Regions from separate parts of the Homo sapiens genome. Here region 1 is linked to region 2. Evidence: promoter capture Hi-C in human tissues and cell types (Jung and others, 2019). All regions are on one chromosome and are shown on one strand. Each heading gives the region's core, a stretch centred on a gene start or on the middle of the fragment in contact. The rest is flanking DNA. Distances are from core to core; before and after follow the strand shown.

What was found. Contacts are between HindIII fragments. The study calls those that stand out against the background at their distance.
Region 1: a fragment that was not itself captured here is called in contact with the fragment with the promoter of PLXDC2 in region 2 in 1 of the 25 tissues and cell types used here (lymphoblastoid cells).

Annotation. Positions count from the first base shown.
Region 1 is chr10:20,831,401-20,835,883 of GRCh38, reverse strand. It overlaps NEBL (nebulette), which reads left to right. Exons shown (of 28, transcript NM_006393.3): 14 at 261-371; 15 at 4,301-4,411. Among named protein-coding and RNA genes, the nearest start is that of NEBL, 64 kb to the left of the region's middle. The HindIII fragment of the contact is 3,953 bases long and covers 850-4,483 here.
Region 2 is chr10:19,814,412-19,818,829 of GRCh38, reverse strand. PLXDC2 (plexin domain containing 2) reads right to left here and starts at 2,398. Exons shown (of 14, transcript NM_032812.9): 1 at 1,639-2,398. The coding sequence starts at 1,750. LOC124902388 (a long non-coding RNA gene) reads left to right here and starts at 2,602. Exons shown (of 2, transcript XR_007062078.1): 1 at 2,602-4,418. RefSeq lists an enhancer at 2,709-3,474. The HindIII fragment of the contact is 14,250 bases long and covers 1-4,418 here.

The DNA of each region.
Region 1 (4,483 bases), core at 1,577-4,076, 1.0 Mb before region 2:
TTGTCAGTGAAGATTTTCACATGGCAATTGCCTTTGTATACTAAACATTTTTGGAGCTTTGCATGCCCTTCTTCAGTGAGAATGAGATTATCATTCTAAGCAGTTCAGAAGTTAGTTGTGAGTGATCATTCATAGTACTCAAGGAGCTTTGTTACCTCTTTTGTAAAATATGTCTAACTATTTTTTTTTTAGTATCATTGACTGCAGATGCATGTTTGCCCACTGAGTGTTTGAATGTTGTAAAATGTTGTCTTTTGCAGAAAGAATACAAGAAAGACCTGGAGTCAATAATTAAAGGGAAAGGAATGCAAGCTGGCACTGACACCCTTGAAATGCAGCATGCCAAGAAGGCTGCAGAGATAGCGAGTGAGGTTAGTAGGGTGCGTGATGCAGGCCTTAAGACTCATATTTTGGAACCTAACAAATCGTATTAGCAACTTGATTACTATATGGAATTTCTCAAAGCATTGCAGCTGGTTTAACAGTTTGGAATGGAGACTATTCCGAAGCATTATGCCAGTTTGAAAAATTACAGTTTTTGCTTTGCTCATATCCTTCCAATATATCAAGAAAGCTTGGTGGAAGGCATTTTAATTGAACAGACACACATGCACACATGCACTCCCCTGCACACCTTATTTCAGAATACAACAGATTTAATGGTAATCTAGGCTATGATAAATGTTTTCATGGTATTTTTTAATGGATCATGTGCTGCTTGGCATATCTGTATTTCCAAATTTCTGAGCAGAACTTCATATATGGACACTTTACATGAGAACAATAGTCATTCCTGTCTGATTGCATGTTCTTAAAATAGCCTTTGTTGACATGATCAGCACGCATGAAATTTCTACACAGTCAGCATTTTGGATGGAGGTCTGATATAACCTGAACGACCATGTTCATTCATCTGATAACACCAGTTTTTTCTTCATGGGATACAGGATATTGATTTAGAAGTTTTGTCTTAAATTCTGTGACAGGCTGGGTATCACATCACAAGGTTGTAGGAGTCAGACCATATGCATATTTTTCAAAGGAAATACCCTAGAACTTTCTCTACACCTCTTGAACTTCCCCAGAAAATCTGAGAATATAAAAGGATCACTGGAGTAAAGAAGCTTTGGGATGTGATGATTTTATAAAAAGTGTATGTGAAGAAAAAATCGGGGTGCAGGTGAAGGGGTCCTGTTCACTTATCTCAAGGTTGGTTAGGTGGGGGCTTCAGTGGAGTATCCTGAGACCTGTTGTGTGATCTTTGCACTTAGGAAGAGCTGACTCAGGACTGACACCTTACAGGAAATCTGGAAGGCCAGAGGTAGCTGCTTAGCTGCTAGGGAAGTTACTGTTGTTTTGAAAATGACTGACATCCCCAGAGTTAGGCACTGGCCAGGGAAATGGGATTGCCATGATTGAATAAGACAAAGGAAGTGGAGATGGTATAGGTTTCCTGATCAATAAGTGTTCCATTTTGAAGTGGTGGCCAGGGGTGGACGGCCAGGAGCATGAGGAACTTGAAAACCTGCTTTATCCCTTTCCTACTTCTGTTCTCGTCCTGAGAGATAGTCATTGTTATAAGTTTGTTATGGAACCTTCCAAATCTATTTTGTGTTTATATAGATAAACATACACATGTACACACAGCGACTTAAAAAAATCTTAAATGGGGTCAGACCCCATTTAAGTGGTTGATTGTTTTCTCACTTTATATTAAGGATTTTTTTCCATGTTCCTTCATATAGGTCTACCTCATTCTTATAGAAAAATTAAGTGTTCTGTAACATGGATGTGAATATGTGACCATTTATCTTTTGTTGTCTGCAAGGGAAATGTATAATGGGATCTCAACGTTACAGGCCAAAACTAGAATCCCTAATTTTCCCCTAGGTTAGCTTTCCCCAATCTTCAAATGGCGCCAACCAAAGCATAGAAGTCACTTTGATTCCTGTCATCAGCATACTTTATTGATGCCACCCCCATAGTGGTGGTCTAAATCCATCTTTCTTGCCACCCTAGTCCTAAGCCACTATCTCTATCCTCTAGATCATTGCCATAGCTTCCTAACCAGAATTCTGCTATTATTGCCTTCCTAGTAGACATTCTTTTTTTCTTTTTTTTTTTTTTTGAGACGGAGTCTCGCTCTGTCGCCCAGGCTGGAGTGCAGTGGTGCAATCTCGGCTCACTGCAAGCTCTGCCTCCAGGGTCCTAGTAGACATTCTTAACCCAGCAGGAGAAGAATCCTTGAGGCAATTAAATGAAATTTTGTTACTCTCCTCACATGCAATTCTTTAATGGTTTCCAGTCACATCCAGTGTAAATTGATTCACGTGGCTCTGGTGAAGTCTCCACTCTCAGGCTGAGAATCTTAGTCAATAAAAACCCCCCAAATAATAATAATAAAAATCTCATTTGCATATAATCATAGTCATGTCCCATTTTGCCTAAATGACAGGCTCAGATCATTTTCAACCAATGTTCGGGACTTTGCCATAGTTTATTTTTAATATCAAAAGTTTATTTTTCAAATAAAGTCAATGGATCTTATTGTGACACAAATGACCCTCAAGAGTCAAGCCTTCCCATATCTCTGGGCTTGACCATGTGACTTTCTTTAGCCAATGAGACATCAGCAAATGTGACTCAGACTATAAACACACTTCTGCATTAGGGTTTGCCCTCTTGGAATGTAGATGCCGCCATGTTGTTTTAAACCTGCTAAGTTTTGGTGTGTTTTGTTATGCAGACAACAAATAACTGATGCAAAGGGTGTCTAATGTAGTCTATGTGCTTTAGAACACATTTACATTTGAAAGTTCATATTAAAAAATTGTTACATCCTTTTACCATCAGACCTTGGTGGCTGTCTGTTATCAGTGCCTCAGTTTCATCATATTTGTTGGCCTTCAAATGAAACATTTCATTTTGGGGCTTTGAACAGGCTGACTAAAACAGAGTGCTTTTTGTAGACATAGTAATAATTGAATATTAATATTTTGAAAGTTAAACATAATTATGTAAACTTTTATTTAGAAAAGTGATACTGGGAGTGTAAGTCAGTAAAAACAGGAAGGATTATGAGTGGAAGATAGGAGGCAAAATACTCCAAGACTGAGATTTTTGTTTACCACTTACCTAAATTTGAGGATCTCCTAATAAGCAAATCAACATTTACTTTGCAGCAGAGAATCTACAAATCTGGAGTGTGTCAGCATAATAAGAAATAATTGTTTTAAAGCAAATTTAATTGGCTATAGTTAATAGTTTTTTTTAATAACATTTTTCTTTGAAGAATAATATACATATAGAAAAAGCAAATTTATATATGTACAGCTTTCTGAATTTTATAATCAGTTTTCAAATGTGACAGAAGTCCCTAAAGACATGTGTGTCTATGTAATTATGACTATCTTGTAAGCAATTGGTAATCCATTTCCCACTGGCTTAAAAAAAAAACAGAGATAACTTATTTGTTGTTCTTATGATTGAATAGTAGAGAAATTCCTAGGCACGGCTTGATCTAGGACTCAAATAATGAGATATAGTTTCAGCTTGCAGTTCTTAGGTAGACATTCTTGTTTGCAAAGAGGCTTCCAGCAGCTCTTATATGGAAAAAAAGATGCATGCATCCCAGAACCAATTCTGCAGTGTGGGTGATGGGGTATAATGATTTATTGAGTCCAGCAGATCCCAGAGACTTGGGCCAGTTTCTGGATGGTTTAGGAGTGGGGAACATTGACTTGTCCAGTGGCAAATCAGAGAGCCAGTGAAGGGAATAATGATTTATTTAAGCCCAGCTAAGTCCAGAGATTTGAGCCAGTCTCACCGAAGCTGGATGGTTTAGGAGTGGGAACATTGAGTTGTCTAGTGGCAAATTAGGGAGCCAATGAAGGGGAAAAAAGGGGTGGATTCCAGAGAAGCAACCAACACTTATTCACTACAGAGTGAAAAACAGCAATTTTACAATCACTCTTGACTGACACTTAACTAAGCCATATATGACCCAATAATATATCAAGTTTATCATATTGAAATGTTAAATTTTCCCCTTGGCTAGCTGTGTTTTTTCTTCTTCTTAATTCAGATTAGCTGAAAAAAATTGTTCTGATTACTGGTGAATAAGTTATACTAAGTCGTATTCCTACCACAAGTAAAAACTCTATTATTCTATAGAAATAAAAGAAATAAGGATTCAACTTCATTCCAAAAGACATGGTCTTAATGTCAAAATGACATCTCGATTTTTGAGCAGTTTCTCAAATGATTGGAGAGCACTAACTGTATGTTTCATTTTCTGCAGAAAGACTATAAAAGAGATCTGGAGACTGAAATTAAAGGGAAAGGGATGCAGGTGAGCACAGACACTCTTGATGTCCAGAGAGCTAAGAAAGCATCCGAGATGGCCAGCCAGGTAAGACAGCAGCAAGATACAAAGTTTAAAATAAATGCCGTGAATCATAGCTGGAAAGAGCATAAGTTTTCT
Region 2 (4,418 bases), core at 1,149-3,648:
TAAGCATCTATTCATACCGTGAATAAGTACATGAAAATTACTGTTGCAATTTTTAAATAACTGTGTCCTTTCCTGGAAGGCTAAAAGTGTTATTTTTTCGGACCAATGAAACGTATCAGAGAAATAAACAAAAGGCATAGTCTACTGTCATAAATCATACACAGTCAAGAACAACCTATGTCCATTAATGCAGAACAATTAAATGTGACAAAGACAAGTCAACACCCAAGAAATCTGCATTTTGTTCTCAGCTTTAAAAGTGTTGTCATCCTATTGCCTCCCTGCACATACACCCCAACACACACACCCCTTCAACCATAAATAAGAGCGCAGAGTCAGTATCTGTGCTTTATCTAGAACAGTTTACACCAGGGACAGGCGAAGTGTTGTGACTGTCTTCTAAGTCGCGGCTTGGTAAATTTCACTCAAGGGTTTCCTTCAAGATCTTCAAGATTCACCTTGCCTGGAATCCCCAGGTGTCCCCCAACCTTCCATCTGTGACTCTCTAGTTGACTGTTGAGGACGCATGCATACTTTCCGGGCAATCATTTAAATTACACACACACACACACACACACACACACACACACACACACACACACCAGAAAAGAACAAATTGACAAATTGATTATCCTAGGGAGAAAGTTTTCGTTTTCTTTTCTTTTCCCTCCAAGTTTTTTCTTTTTTCTTTTTCTCTCGTTTCACCTCCTCTCGAAGTCCACCCTAGTTCACCAATTTCTGCCAAGATCTCTTTCTGCCTGTGTCTTCACTTTCTTCACTGAAAGGCAGAAATGGGGAGTAGGCACCCAGTTCGCGGTGGGCAGGGTTCCAGGAGGCAGCTCCCGCTCGGCGATAGCCCCCGGGGCGCAACTCCCCGCAGGACGCGCACCTGCCAGGACAGCCACTAAGAGGATGCGGAGGTTGGGGGCCCTCTCGGGGACAAAATCAGGGCACTCCAAGGAACTCTCTGCGCGTTCAGGCCTGTCTGTGAAGCTGGCAGGCGGAGGACAATGGGAGCAGGGGTAGGTCTCCAGAGGCGAGCCCGCCTCCACCTTTCCCACCTGCTCCCCACCTCTGCGCCGGCCGCATTTACCCCGCCCCCCTTCCAGCGCCCGCTTGGCCCAGGTCACTAGACGGAGCTAGTGGGGATCGCCAGGGGAAGGAAGGTGCTGCCACAGGGAATTTTCTCGTGCAGAGGGGAGACCTGCAATCCCTGGCTTTCACAACGTCCCCCACCCACCCCATACCACACACGCTTAGTTTAACCAGCAGCGAGGAAGGAGGAGGAGCCGGAGAGCACACAGCCTGGAGATGCCAGGTCCTAGGAGATGTATCCACGGAAGAAGCTTTGCTCTCACACTGAAGCCCTCCCTGGGCTACTTTGGGGAGACAGTACCACCCCCTGCCGCCCAGGTGAAGTAAGCCCGAAAGCCTCAAGAAAACCCCTAGTCCCCGGCGTCCTTCTCTTGATAACCCTCTTTCCCCATTTGGGAAGCCTAAGTTTAGCCGAAAAGCAACTGCAATAAGTTTCCCAAGGGCAGATAGGTGATGTTGGGGGGAGAGGGTAGGGAGCACGAGAGTGCCAGAGAGGTCTTCAGCTGCGCACAAAATCAGCAAGCTAAAGTGCATCTTACTTACCAAGGATTTGGTCTCCGGGTTTCCCATCGGCGAACTGAAACTGGTCCGTGAAGAAGTGGCAAAGTAACATAACTCCTGCAGCGGCCAGGTCGGCCTTCGGGAACCTCGCCATGCCGCCGCCGCCACCTCCCTACCCCACCCGCCAGTCCTTCGCCGGTGCTCGGGGGCTCCCGATGCAATAGGCACGACCGGGCCAAACGCTGCGGATCGGTCTCGGTAGGACCCGGAGGCCTTTGTAAATGTCGCTGCGATTTCACAGTAGGGAACCGAGAAGAGGAAGAAGCGAACGCGAGTAGGAGCGCAGCGCTCTTCGGACCTCTGAGGCTCTCTTTGCAACTTGCCACACTCGCAGCCCTCACCCGACACTGAACAACAACCGCGGGGAGGAGAGGCCACTTGCAGCCGAGGCTCGCAAACTGTCGGTTCCACTCGGGCAGCGCCAACCCGGTGCCCGCGGACGGTGACTTCCGAGCCCCAGCGATGCGCTCCACTGGGTTCAAAACAGATCTAATTCCACAGCCAGCGCCGCTGCCTGCCCCAGATCCACTAGGGCTGGTCGGCTCTGCAGGAACTTTCCTCTGTCTAGGGATGGCCCCGGCAGGAGGTTTAGGTTTGCGGGAAGGAGGTTGATGACGAAACCCTCCCGACAAGTTTTGCTTCTTTTCTTCGCCCGACGCAGGGCGCGCGTCCTTTCTCGCAGCCGGAGGAATGGGCAGCTCCAAAGAGCTGAGCCCTGGGAAGGTTAGGGCTGCAGCAGTCTGAGGTCCGAAGCCAGGAAAAAAATGTGTTTAAAAAAAAAAAAAAAAAAGAGGAAGAAGAAAGGAAAAGGGTGGAGTGGGAGGGAGTCACGCTGGAACCTATCGGGAGAGGGTTCCTCCGGGCTCAGGAGGAGGTGGCCCCAAGCCCCCGCGGAGCCCCAGGAGTTTGGTGGCGGAGGAGGCGCTGCCGTCGCCACGCTCCCCCGCGCTCCTTCTCCACACTTTGAGGAGGGAAGGCAGCTCGCAATTTGCCAGATCTGCCGCCGCACCCTCCTCCCTCCTCCCTCCGCCCTCCCCTTCGCTCCTCCAGGCTTCTCCCACCTTCCTCCCTGAAACCGGCAGCCCGCACAGACCTGTCCAATGGCTGCACTTTCCTCGGGGCTGGCTGAGGAGTCGCGGCCAACAGATTAAGCCGGGGGAGCCTAGCGAAGGGGAGGGAGAGGGCCACTCCAGCCCCGTGCGCCCCAGGCAGCCGGCTGCCCCAGAGCGCGGGGAGAGGGGACAGGCCGGGGAGCTATCGGGGGAGCGCGGGGCGGTACCTCCGCGCCGCCGGGGCGCCATCCTCGCAGCCTGCTCGCACGCCCTGGGCAGCTCCGCCAACTGCGCCCCACACCCACCTGGCTCCCGGGCCGCCTTCGCGCCCGACTGCGGGGGGCGATCGCGCCCCGCCCCGACCCTGGCGGGGTCTCCCTGGGCACGAAAGGGTTAACCACAGCTCGCCCCTTCGCGGAGGCTGGTTCTGGTAGTGGCTAGGGAGTGGAGAAAGCAAACCAGAGCCGGTTCGGTTACCGACTCTGCGAAGCCCCCTCGACCCCAGCCCAGCGCGGGAGGGTGGCGGAAGGTGGTGCACCGCAGCGTGGTCCCCGCCGCTGCCGCCGCGGCTTTGCAAAGTGTCAGCGGGGGCGAAAGCGAGAGTTTAAAGGAACAGGAGGCCCATTGAATTTCCTACCGGAGCTTTCAGGGGCTCTGGCTCCCCAGTTTGTTTTTGTTTTTTCAGCTCGGGGATCTGTTTCCGCGTTAACCCTTGCCGGCCCTCTCGTTAGTTGATATCTTATTTTGCATACAGTTAATCATTTTTGAAAGGGATAAATACAAGGAAAAGAAGCAAAGCGCTATTGGTTAAAAGTACAGGATCTAGAGCCCGGACAGCCTGGGCTGGAATTTCACCTCCCCCGCAATGAGCAGTTTATCTCCTAGCCTCAGTTATCCATCCATCAAATGGAGAGAATTAGAGTAACGCCCTTATAAGGTGGTTGCAATGGATTGGATGAGTTAACTGTATATTTAATAAATATAGAACATTGCCTACCGCAAAGTACATGGCTTTGTTTAAGTGTTTACTGAAGCAAAAGTGAGAGAAGACGACTTCAATCACATAATAAATGTGCATGTGTTCTAAGTTCAAGGTCCTTTCCACTCCAAGCTCTGAAGAGTCTATGGATGCTGTCAATAGATGTCTCGGCTTGCCACAAAACCCACTGGAAGTGGATCCGGATAATCAATCTACCTTTGCAAATGTGATGCTCAAAGGACGGCTCTCTCATGGGAAACAAGAAAGGTTTCCCTTAATCCAATACTCAATTTGCTCTTTATTTCCAAACAACAGATATACACGTATAAACACAAACATATATCATGCCTATACTCTTTATTATGCCAGGACCCTGGCTCTTTCCTGAGCTTTCCTCCCATAGGTTGATTTCTACTTAGGTAACTGGGTTTTTCTATTTCTGCTTAACTAGGAGTGTTTAAGTTCTATGTAATATTACATCCGAATTTGAGTACCCGGATATATACCTGCTTAAAATCAAGTTTGAAAACTGAGTCTTCTCATCAAAACCTGATTGTGCGGTTGACCCTTGAACAACAGGGGTTTGAACTGCGAGGATCCGCTTTTGCATGGATTTTCTTCCTCCTCTGCCACCCCTAACAGAGCAAGACTAACCCCTCCTCTTCCTCCGCTTCAGCCCACTCAATGTGAAGACGATGAGGATGAAAGCCTTTCTGATGATCCACTTCCAC